Regions from separate parts of the Homo sapiens genome. Here region 1 is linked to region 2. The links are contacts of gene promoters, found by promoter capture Hi-C in blood cells and fetal thymus (Javierre and others, 2016). All regions are on one chromosome and are shown on one strand. Each heading gives the region's core, a stretch centred on a gene start or on the middle of the fragment in contact. The rest is flanking DNA. Distances are from core to core; before and after follow the strand shown.

The links. Contacts are between HindIII fragments. The CHiCAGO score rates a contact against its expected background, and 5 or more counts as called.
Region 1: a contact is called between a fragment that was not itself captured here and the fragment with the promoter of IL9 in region 2, in 4 of 17 cell types (M1 macrophages, M0 macrophages, M2 macrophages and 1 more). The highest score is 8.5, in M1 macrophages.

Annotation. Positions count from the first base shown.
Region 1 is chr5:136,104,452-136,110,239 of GRCh38, forward strand. No RefSeq gene overlaps it. Among named protein-coding and RNA genes, the nearest start is that of SMAD5, 25 kb to the right of the region's middle. The HindIII fragment of the contact is 1,247 bases long and covers 1,956-3,202 here.
Region 2 is chr5:135,891,966-135,897,438 of GRCh38, forward strand. IL9 (interleukin 9) reads right to left here and starts at 3,876. Exons shown (of 5, transcript NM_000590.2): 1 at 3,738-3,876; 2 at 3,590-3,625; 3 at 3,475-3,507; 4 at 2,055-2,186; 5 at 281-545. The coding sequence starts at 3,851. The coding sequence ends at 426. It overlaps LOC124901074 (a long non-coding RNA gene), which reads left to right. Exons shown (of 3, transcript XR_007058947.1): 2 at 477-638; 3 at 3,733-4,183. The HindIII fragment of the contact is 6,689 bases long and covers 1,314-5,473 here.

The DNA.
Region 1 (5,788 bases), core at 1,329-3,828, 210 kb after region 2:
GCTTCTGTTATCAGGCAGAACTTTGGATTGCAGCCTCGTAGCTCCTCCTGAAAATGCATACTTGAGCCAAGAGCAAACCTGTAAGGGCCTCTCAGATACTGCTCACCCCCCGGAAGCTGGATTGCTTTGAATATTTTGCCAAATCTCCTTCCCACTCTTAGAAGAAGATTTGAGTTGAAAGCACATAGAACAGTTGTCTTTGCCTGTCACTTCCCCCTTCCCCGGCTGCAGGATTCCTGTCTCACAACTACCCTCCTACTCCCTTTCTTTTCCTCCGTCCCAGACCCAAACTTGTAGGGGACCTTTTGCCCTGAATTTCAGCAGGAAACACAACTAGCAACCAGATGTCTGACTTTTTCACCCCATTGGCAAGGATCAGCCATCTTCCCTGTAAACTTCCGGCCTTTCCTCTCTGTTAGATCTTTCAGCTTCTTCACGCTCTGTCTCCTTTAGCTCAGATGCATGAAAACCCTCCAGAAGAGAAACAAAAGGTAGCCTGCAAAGTGCCGCAAACGTGCATAGTATTTATATGCTCTACCCAGCAAATTGGTTGTCGGTGGATGTCGGAGGGAATGGGGGTGAGAGGGTAGCAATTCAGCTTTTAGATTCATTTGGTCTATCAGTAAATTCAGATCCAATGAAGAATAGGTGGCTTTGATCAAAGATAAAGATAATGAAAAGAAGTTAATAACTTAAAATAACACACCAAGGGAAAAAAACACAGATTCTGTTACCATCAAAGTGTTTGAGTATGATAAAATAATAGGTAAAGTAGCTTTCTCAACTTCAGGAATAATGAGAGACCCAGATCTTCTTTGACACAGCAGAGACCTTTGGGACTGGGGCAGACCTTAGACCTCATTCAGTTTCTTCACTTTCCAGGTGTAGAAACTGAGGTCCTACCTGAGTGGGAAGGACTTGCCCCAGGTCCCTTGCTTGATGGCAGAGTGGGGTGTCCCAGCTCAAGGGCCTGCCCCTGGCACTGCTTATATCTACCCTGAGACATTTCTGGAGAAGGATGGTGGTCACGGACCTGGGCTTGATCTGCCGACTCTCTGTGCCTCCTGTCTTCCTGCTCTTGGGATGGTTGGCTGGTCCCCCATCTCAGGAATCCACTCTAATCTGCGGCTCTCGGCCATGAAGCAGCAGCAGTGATGGGGCTTTTTTCCTGCGTCCACCAGCCATCTGATACACACCCCAAAGGGGAGAAGCATGAGCCTTTTTTTTTTAACATAAGAAACCTACCAATAAACATCTCCGTTGTCAAGTCAACACTTGTTGACCATCTATAGGCAGTACAGAGGAAGTGTTTCTCAAAGAAATGAATGAAAAACAGGTGGGGAGTCAGTGGAAGCCTTGAAATTTTAAGGAATTATCACTCAATCGCACAAAGTCCTGTATTACCTTATCCCCTTCCTTGCCCGGGCTGACTTTCCCTGCTTACCTCTGTCTTCACTGGTGTAAATCATCATTCCACTAATCCCAGATGTGTAGCTTGGGGCAAGTTTCTGCCCCTCTCTGTGCCCCAGTTTCCTCACCTATGAAGTGAGAATAATAGGGCCAGGTACAGTAGCTCAGTCCTGTAAGCCCAATACTTTGAGAGGCTGAGGTGCGAGGATCACTTGAGCCTAGGAGTTTGAGACCAGCCTGGGCAACAGAGTGAGACCCCATTTCTACAAAAATAATTTTTTTTAAATTAACCAGGTGTGGTGGGATGTGCCTGTAATCACAGATACTCAGGAGGCTGAGGTGGGAGGATCACTTGAGCCCAGGAGTTTGAGGTTACAGTGAGTTATGATCATACCACTGCACTCCAGCCTGGGTGACAGAGTGAGGCCCTGTCTCTACAAAAAAGAAAAAAGGCATGGGGGAATAATAGTTCTTAGGGATACAATTGCCCTGGGGGTGATGTGAAATGAGGGCTATCACACTTAGCATATAGTAGAAGTTCAATAAGCTTTAGTTCTCTTCCTTCTGTAATGGGAGACTATACACATGTTCCTTAAGCAGTGGGTCCCAACAGAACAGGAGGGTGCCCTCTTCAGCAAGTCTTATGACATCTTGCCTTCCTACACACCTGAATCTTTGTCCTGCAGCCTCGGCCGCCAACAAGAAAGACCAATCTGATGCTTAAAGGATGTGTTCAATTCTCCTGGGTAGCATGGGCACCTCATCCTGGCAGGGTCATGGTGGAAAACATTTGCCTTTTCTGTCCCAGGCCCACAACCAGGGGCTCCAGCCCTGAAGTTTCTAATTGTTTACTTCGCAACACTTGAATTTTTATTCTAAAAAAAAGGAAGGAAAAAAAAAGGAAAAGAAACCAGGGCCCAGACTTAATGCAAATGAATCCCAAGGGGAGTCTGTTACCTTCGGGCTCAGAACAATGAGTTAATTGAAAGCGGTAATGAGAAAAAGCAGCTGGCATTCATAAACCCATGGGCCAATGAGCAGTTCAATTCCTGGGCAGCAGGTGAGAGCCAGGCTTTCTAGACAACCAAAATGTCAATTTGCTTCTGAAAATAATTGCCCGAGGAATACCAAGCCACCAGCAAGGACTGAGCCTGTCTACAGGTCCTGTCACCTGGCTGGGGGCCACCTGTGATGGCCCCAGCACCCAGACCTTCAAGTCTTGAGAAAACTGTGCTTTAAGGACTTACCTGAGACTAAGGACACACACCCACGATGGACACCCAACTGGAGAGTCATGTGAGAAGCCCCAAAGTCAAAGGACTTGCTTCACATTCCAGCTCTATCACTCCTGTGGGGTGGGGCCTGAGGCAAGGCATGCCACCATACCTTAGTTTCCCCACCTGTCACAATACCTGTCCTCCCAGCCTCCCAGCATTTCTTTATCTGAACATCAAATGAGATGACATATTTGGAATGCTCTGTAAAATAAGAGATGTGTTGTGAAAATAGAAAATCCCAACAGAGTGAACTGAGGGGTCAGACTACCTGGTTAACTCAGATAAGACTCAGAAACTAATGCATACCTCACGAGATTGATGAGGGAATTTGATAAAATAGTGTGTGTGTGTGTGTGTGTGTGTGTGTGTGTGTGTGTGTATAAACATACAAACAAAGCATTTGGAAAGGTAAACACTGATGTTTAGCACATATGGTAAGCCCTGAATAAATGTTAACTAATATTGATTATGGGTTATTATTTTCAGGACAGCCTCAGCTTGTAATGACTAAGCCAAGCTTATGTCAGATGCCCAGTTTGGGTTTCTATGCACTTTGCTTCATTTTCTAATCATTTCTGGCCACATGGGTCAAATATCCACTCTGCCCACAGTAGTCCTGCATCATACAAAGAGGGCTAGGCTGAGTAGACAGAGCAGTAGATGGTTTTAAAGACAAAATGATTCACAACACAGCTGAGATCTAACCAATTGAGATGCCATGTCTTTCCAAGACCAGAAAATTACACTACACTGTGAACTCATTGCAGTCTTGTCCACCTGCTGGGCCATGGAGCAGTGTCATGGAATCTCCAGGGAGCCTTTTATTTGAACCACTGATGGAATCCAGAGCACAAGAACCTGGGAAGTGTGATTGTGCATGTGTGTGTTTGTTGGATGAGAGATGTGGAACAGCCACCAAGAAAAAAATAATATGCTCCTTGGATAAGACAGAGGATACTTCACACAAGGGTCTTCCTGGGTATCTATCTGCCCACTTCTCCTGCCTCTGCTTGTCTCTTAGAGTATCTCAGAATGTCCTTCTGAGAAAGTCCCCTTAGATCATGCCATTGTTCATAAGCAACCTCAAGTGGGACTTTCTGGCAGGTCCTAAGGGATGTCAACCATACTGTGCTGAGCATAAGTCCCACAGCAAGTGCAGGAATGAGTCTGCGGGGCTGTGTCTTGGCATGTCCTTCAGTAAAAGCCAAAGGCAATATTAAAGCACAACTGCTTAATTCACACGCTGCCAGTAGGAGTGAAAACTGGCACAACCTTTTTAGAGCACAATTTGGCAGTATTTTTCAAAACTAAAGATTTACCTACTCTTTAACTCAGGTTTTACTTCAAAACCTCAGTTCTTCAGAAGAAACATGCCCATGCATGCACAGAGGCATAGGCACAAGCCTGTTTATTACAGCATGCCAGTAATAGGAGACAACTGGAAACAACCCAGGTACTCATCCAACTGCACAAAGATGCAAGGATGCTTGCTACATCAGGTTTATAACAGCAACAAAAAAAGCAAGGTGGTGCAAACTCTTTTGTAGGAGCTTTTATAAAATGGACGTGATTTAGTATGTAGTCTACAGTGGCATGGAAAGGCTCCAAATATATATTAAGTGGAAAAAGTAGATTGCAAAGCATTAAATGCACTAAAATCCTTTTTGATAGCATACATATGGCAACAAGATCTGAATGAATGTATGGAGAAGTATTAACAGTTGTTATCTTGGTGGGGGAGGGGAGGGAGGTTACAGGAAACTTGTACTTTCTACATTATTTATTTCTATAGGGCTTGACTTCTTCATGATGAGGATACATTAATTTTGAATTTTAAAACAGTCAGAATGATTAAGGAACTATACATAAGCAAAACTGAGGATAAATCAATCCCAGAGCAGAGGTTATAACAGCATATGTGCAACAGCTGAGTTAGAGCGCAGTTTCAAAGATGCAGAGAGGCAGTTTGATTTGGGCTCTTTTGTGGGATCTTTAGTAGGCAGTGGTCAAGTTTTGCTAGAACCTGGGACATAGGCAGCTCAAGGGCCTGTTTTCCACTGAAGGCAGCAAACACCAACCAACCAGCACCTTGTGAGTCGCTCACTGATAGGGGAGTTCTGAGCATCAGAGCAGAGGGGTGGTTGTCTGGCCACCTGAATGCAGGGGCAGCCCCCTTCTTTTTCTTCCCATGGAGCTGGGGTGCAGAGGAAGTGGTCAAAGCCTGGTTGCCCCTTGAGAGCAGACCTGGGTCTGAGCCAACAGGGAAGGGTTTCCTTATAGCTCCATCCATCACCCAGGCGGGAAACTCTGAACAGATGATTTTCCATTCTTTCCTTCCTCCAAGAGGCCCCAAAAAAACTTTCATGTTTCCCTTTATGGCTCCCTAATTCTTCAAGTTTTGATTCAGGGTGAGCTGGATGAGAAAGATTGGATTACACACTGGGGGACGGTCAATTCTGGGATCCAGATGGCTGAGCAGACTCTGCTCACAGCTTCTTATGCTGTGTTGCTGTCTTAGTCTATTCAGCTGCTGTAACAAAATAACCTGGACTGGGTAAGTTATAAACACAGGAATTTATTGCTCACAGTTCTAGAGGCTGGGCAAGTTCAAGATCAATGTGCCAGCAGATTCAGTGTCGGGTGAGGTGCCTCACAGATGGTATCTTCTGTGTCCTTCTGTGATGGAAGGACAAACAAGCTGCCCCAGGCTTCTTTGATAAGGGCACTAATCCCCTTCATGAGGGCTCTGCCCTCGTGACTTATTCACTCCCAAAGGCCCTACCTCCGCATTACCCTGGGAGCTAGGTTTCAACATATGAATTTACAAAGAACACAAACATTCAGACCATAGAATCATTTCTTGCAGATAAGCAGGCCAGGACAGAGTCCTCCTCCCTAGCAAGACATTATCAACTGCTCTAGAACCTGAGTCTGAGGAACAGCACGTGTGCCTCTTTTGAGTCAGTAAAGTCAGCTGGACCTGTTGGAAAGGTGGCATGGGGTGAGAAGTCTTTGCTTCCCTTAATCCCACCTCATCTGAGATCTGCTTCCAATTTTAATGTTGTTTCTGGGGAGAGGCCCAGAACTGTCTCTGAGCCTTT
Region 2 (5,473 bases), core at 2,626-5,125:
TAGCAGTGTCAGACATGCCTTCAGCCTCCCCTAGTGGCAACCCTCAGATGGTCCTCATAGACATTCTTTGTAACTGCTCCCTGCAGCCCTCCTGCAGCTCCAGCCACAGCCTATGAGCCTGAGGGTCTGTATTCAGCATCAGGAGTCTTATCACAGAGACTCCTACAGGAGTCTCTGATCTATTCTTCCCCTTAACAACACTTGTAGCTTTCTTTGTTCTGAGCAGCAAGAAATGAATAATTGCCAAGAGACCAGCTCATGTTGTTTTTTCCACATATGTATTTATTTCAAAATAAAGACATACAATGTTAAACAAATAATCACAACTGATACTGATTTAGAGTAGCTTACTTGATTTTTAAATTGTAGCAACTTAAAGAGAAAGCTTTTTAAATTTAATAAATAGGATAAATAATATTTCATCTTCATATCTTGCCTCTCATCCCTCTCATCTTTTCTTTCTGGAAAATTTCCAGAAGACTCTTCAGAAATGTCAGCGCGTTGCCTGCCGTGGTTTGGTTGCATGGCTGTTCACAGGAAAAATACTGTGGGGATGAAAGTTGATAAGGACAGAGTGACTCAAATGATGTAGAGCCAAGCAGCCCCAGAAGCCTACCTGCCAAGAGCCAGAGTCGGTGGTGAGGATTGTGGGGATGGGAAGGGAAGTGGCTTGAGACACAGAGCAAATAGGTGGGCAGGTCCAGGCTAGCTCATGTGGTGTAAAGACAGCATAGGTGGTTGACCTCAAATTGGATTTCAGGGGTCTTTACACACACACACACACACACACACACACACACACACACACACACACCCCTATTAAGTGGCCCTAAATCTCTGCATTAGAGAAAGCCTTTTCTGGGGACTCTTTGAGGCCTAAAATTGTATCATTATCCTTTTAGGTTGTCTTTCCAAGGTCATTTGACAGTACAATGGCTAAGAGTGGGGCTCTGAGGTCATATAGGCCTGAGTTCAAATCTCAGCTCTGCCACTTATCAAATATGCAGCCTTAGGCAAATTAGTTAACCTCACTGAGAGTAATAAATTGAATAATTGTCCCTAAGGTATGTATTTATTCAGTGAGACAGCATATATTAAGCACTTAGAACTAGATGCCATTGATGGTAGAAACGCATGCAGCTAAACAGCTGAGCTCAGGGCTTTCAGCCTTCTAGGATCTTGTGTGGAGATGCTAATACCCAAAAAACAGAGGGAGGTCACCTCTACCCAACTTGCCATCCCAGTCTGCTGTCAGGGACTAGGGTATATGCTGAAGAAAAGAATGTGTGGATGGGCATTCAGGATGAGTAGCAAGCTTCCACCTTGACCTGGGTGCATTGCCCTTTAAATACCTCCTTAATGCAGGCCAGGCATGGTGGCTCACACCTGTCATCCCAGCACTTTGGGAGGTCAAGGCGGGCAAATCACTTGAGTTCAGGAGTTGGAGAGCAACCTGGCCAACATGGTGAAACCCCATCTCTATTAAAAATACAAAAATTAGCCAGGCATGGTGGCACGCACCTGTAATGCCAGCTACTCGGGAGGCTGAGGCAGGATAATCACTTGAACCCGGGAGGCAGAGGCTGCAGTGAGCTCAGATGGCACCACTGCACTCCAGCCTGGGCAACAGAGCAAGACTCTGTCTCCAAAACAAAACAAAACCTCCTTAACCAACAGGAAAAAAAAATCCCTGTTAACAACATCCATTCAGTTAGTACATTGAATCTCTAGGATAATTTAGTATTATGTGAGCTACATCCCTGATTCTCTAGATTGTAGCTTCTAATTACACTCAGAAAGGATTCTTTCATTATTCCATAGTAGAGAGAAGTAAATGGCCTCGTCAGGAACAATGATCTATCTCACTTTAATTCTATTGTTTCAGTGGATCTCACTTTAATTATATTACTTCTGATTAAAATTCTTAGATGTCTTTTATCAACCTTGAACTACCAATTCCAACTTTATCATCCTTTTGTGTTCAAACAGGGTTGGCATCACCATTCACATAGAAATCACCAACAGGAACATATCACATATGAAAACAAACTTACTGGACACTTGTTGTTCTTTAGTACTTCAACTGATTTTTTCACCCGACTGAAAATCAGTGGGTATCTTGTTTGCATGGTGGTATTGGTCATCTGAGACAGTCTCTCACTGAAGCATGGTCTGGTGCAGTTGTCCTGGTAAATAGTAAGGATTTATTCAAAGAAATATTCTGAGGACAGCTTTGGAAATATATCACAAAGAGCAATATAATAGAGATGATTTTTATTTAATCACCATTACTCAAACTTGCATTATTTTTAGACAGGTCCCTTGCCAATGTAGGAAGTGATCTCCCGTATTTAAAGGGGATGCCATTTTTCCACAGTGACATCCCCTGGAGGAGACTTCCTGTATGTTACATCCAGGAAACATGAGGGCTCTGGGCCCTGAAATAGTCGGCTCTGAATGTTCTTTTCAACGGGTGCTTCCCGGCTTCAAGGCTTGTAAGTCTGAAAGTGCAGAGTGAGGAAAAGCCTTTTCACACCAGCTAATGGGATGTGACAATTGAATGCAGCTGGTATTTCAGCAGCAGCTAAAAACATGGACGGTACTCCAAGGGACAGGGGCTGTGCTGTCTGCCTGGTTCCTGCCCAGAAGGCACTCTATCCTCTTCTCATCTAATGGATGGACCGCGATGGGTGCGATGTCTTACCCTAGCCAGGGCAAGAAGCTCAGATTCTTCAGATTCTCCCAGGCCTTGCATGAGAAAGAATAAAGCACTGCACCTTGGAGAAGTGCCTCCTCCTCACCCTAACCAGGAGTTTGAATTAGGAATCAGAACTTTCCTGCCACCCATCCTTCCTGCCGTAGTGGGCAGTGGCCCTCTGGAAGCCCTCCTTCCACTCACAACCTCAGATCCTCTACCTGCCCAGAGGGCAGCATTCAAACCAACAGTCACTCTAATCAGCTAGACAGACAACAGGGTGGTGGGGAGGAAGGGAGGAGGCAGGGAGGGGGAGGTATAGCGCATAGATCATTCATGACAGATGAAAGATAAGGAGTTGTCATTTTATTTACATTGTTTCACAACTCTAGAGTTATCAGTAAATGAGTTAGAAAGCAATATGATATGAGCTACAGCAATTATTATATCCTTAGTTCCAGTTTTATTTAATTGTGCACATGGCCACCTATCTAAAAAGATATTCAGGATTCTTTTTTTAATGTTGAAAAGTGTTCAAACTTCTCAAGAGGCATAAAGTTAATTAAATACAAAGAAATGTTCATAATATAGGATTTCAAGATCGTAGTTTTAAAAGGGAATAATTTGTAACAATGTGGTTTTAACAGGGAATACTAATCTGTAACAATTAAATTAAGCAACAATGTATAACATTAAATATTAAATAAAGCAACTTATTTTTACTTAAAAACAAACCAAAAAAATCCAAGGTCAACATTATGTTATTTCACTATACTTACAGAGGGAATGCCCAAACAGAGACAACTGGTCACCTGCAAGGGAAATTTCAGAGTGAAGATTCCAGATGTGAAAATTAAAATTAATTTGGAAAGTTCTTAAAGAGCATTCACTCACATTAGCACTGCAGTGGCACTTGGAAGCTGGATCTTCCTAAAGTAGATAGAGAGATAAGAACCTTTAGTCAGCCCCGAGTTTTTTCATCCTCATACATATTTCACTTTGTCAGTAGCTGTCTTTCCCATGGGCTCCCCCTGCAGCCTACCTGCATCTTGTTGATGAGGAAGTTGATGTCCAGGATCCCCGCCAAGGTTGGACACCCCTGGCCTGCCACGGAGCACAGGAGCAGGGCAGAGGTAAGGACCATGGCCAGAAGCATCTTGACAGCGGACTGGAGCTCGCTTGCAGACACCTTCAAATCGAGTGGTATTTAAAGCTCCCTCTCAAACACGGAAAAACCCTGACATCAAACTGATACCAAGAGCCCACTTTTTCTCTGTAAGTTGGGGCCACTTTATACTAACAAACAAAAAAATCAAACTGAGTCACTTGACAGAGATGATGCTGTGCCAGGAAATATCATTCCTCAGAAAAGATGATTTTCAAAAAGTTGAGTACTGAAATGCTGAAGGAAAAGTTAAAGATCTAAAAACCAAGAAAAAAAATTCAAAGACAGGGATTCTGGTTGTGAGAGTTAGAATACTTTCCATGAACGCCCAGGTCTGTATTTTCCCTTTTTACATTATGGGAAATGCTGATATAATATAGCCAGTCATGGGTGTTCTAACGAAGGGGGGCCTGGGGAGACAGAGCGGGTTGGGGGAGGGTGCATGATATTGCAGAACTTCACTTATCTCTGTTGGGGTTTTCCTTTAGTAATTGCAACCTCAGTCTTACTATGCTTTATTCCCAAATCTCAATGTTTTTCATACCCAGGATGAAGTTTGCCACCTAATGCAAATGCATCTTAGAAGTATCCCTTTGTGCAAGTGTCTGAAAGAAGAAATGTTCAACTATAAGCACAAGAATGCGGCAACCATGCTTGTTAAAATTGGCCTTGAGGACTCCTCAGTATCTTTGGAGATCTTATATAACACTGTATGACATCAAGTAAAAACCCAGCACTTGAAAGAGTATAGTAGCTAACATTTACTGAGAACTTACTACATACTAGTAACATTTCTTTTTTTTTTTTTTTTTTTTTTGAGACAGAGTCTCCCTCTGTCACCAGGCTGGAGTGCGGTGGCACAATCCAGGTTCGCTGCAACCTCTGCCTCCCGGGTTCAAGCGATTCTCCTGCCTCAGCCTCCCGAGTAGCTAGAATTACAGGCACCCTCCACCACGCCCGGCTAATTTTTTGTATTTTTAGTAGAGACGAGGTTTCACTATGTTGGCCAGGCTGGTCTTGAACTCCTGACCTCGTGATCCGCCCGCCTTGGCCTCCCAAAGTTCTGGGATTACAGGCATGAGCCACTGGGCCTGACCATACTAGCAACATTTCTAAGTACTTTACATGCATTAAGCCATGTAATACACTCGGCTGCCAAATGAGGTGGGGAGTAATTTGTCATCACCATTTTTTACCCTTTAAAACACTGTCTACATCTTAGCTTCCTGGCCCTTCAGTATGGCTGTGTTTAATCACTATGAGTCAAAAAAGCAATCTCAGTGTAACTCTATGAAGTACTATAATTATTCTTATTATCTTACAGATGGAGAAACTGAGGCATAGAGAGGCAGGTAATTTGCCCAAAACCACAAAGCCAGGAAGCCGCAGAATTTGTATTCAAGCCCAGAAGTCTGCCTCCTGATTTCAGCTCTTAATCCTCCTGAACTCCTGTTTTTCTGCAGATCTTTTATCTGCCTCTCCCACCAGGATATATACTCCAGGGCTTTATGGGTCCAGTTCACCCCTATATTCTCAGCACTTAAGGAGGTGCCTGGGGAACTGTGGGCACTCACTAAATGCTTGTTGAATTAAAACACTAATTTGAAAAGTAG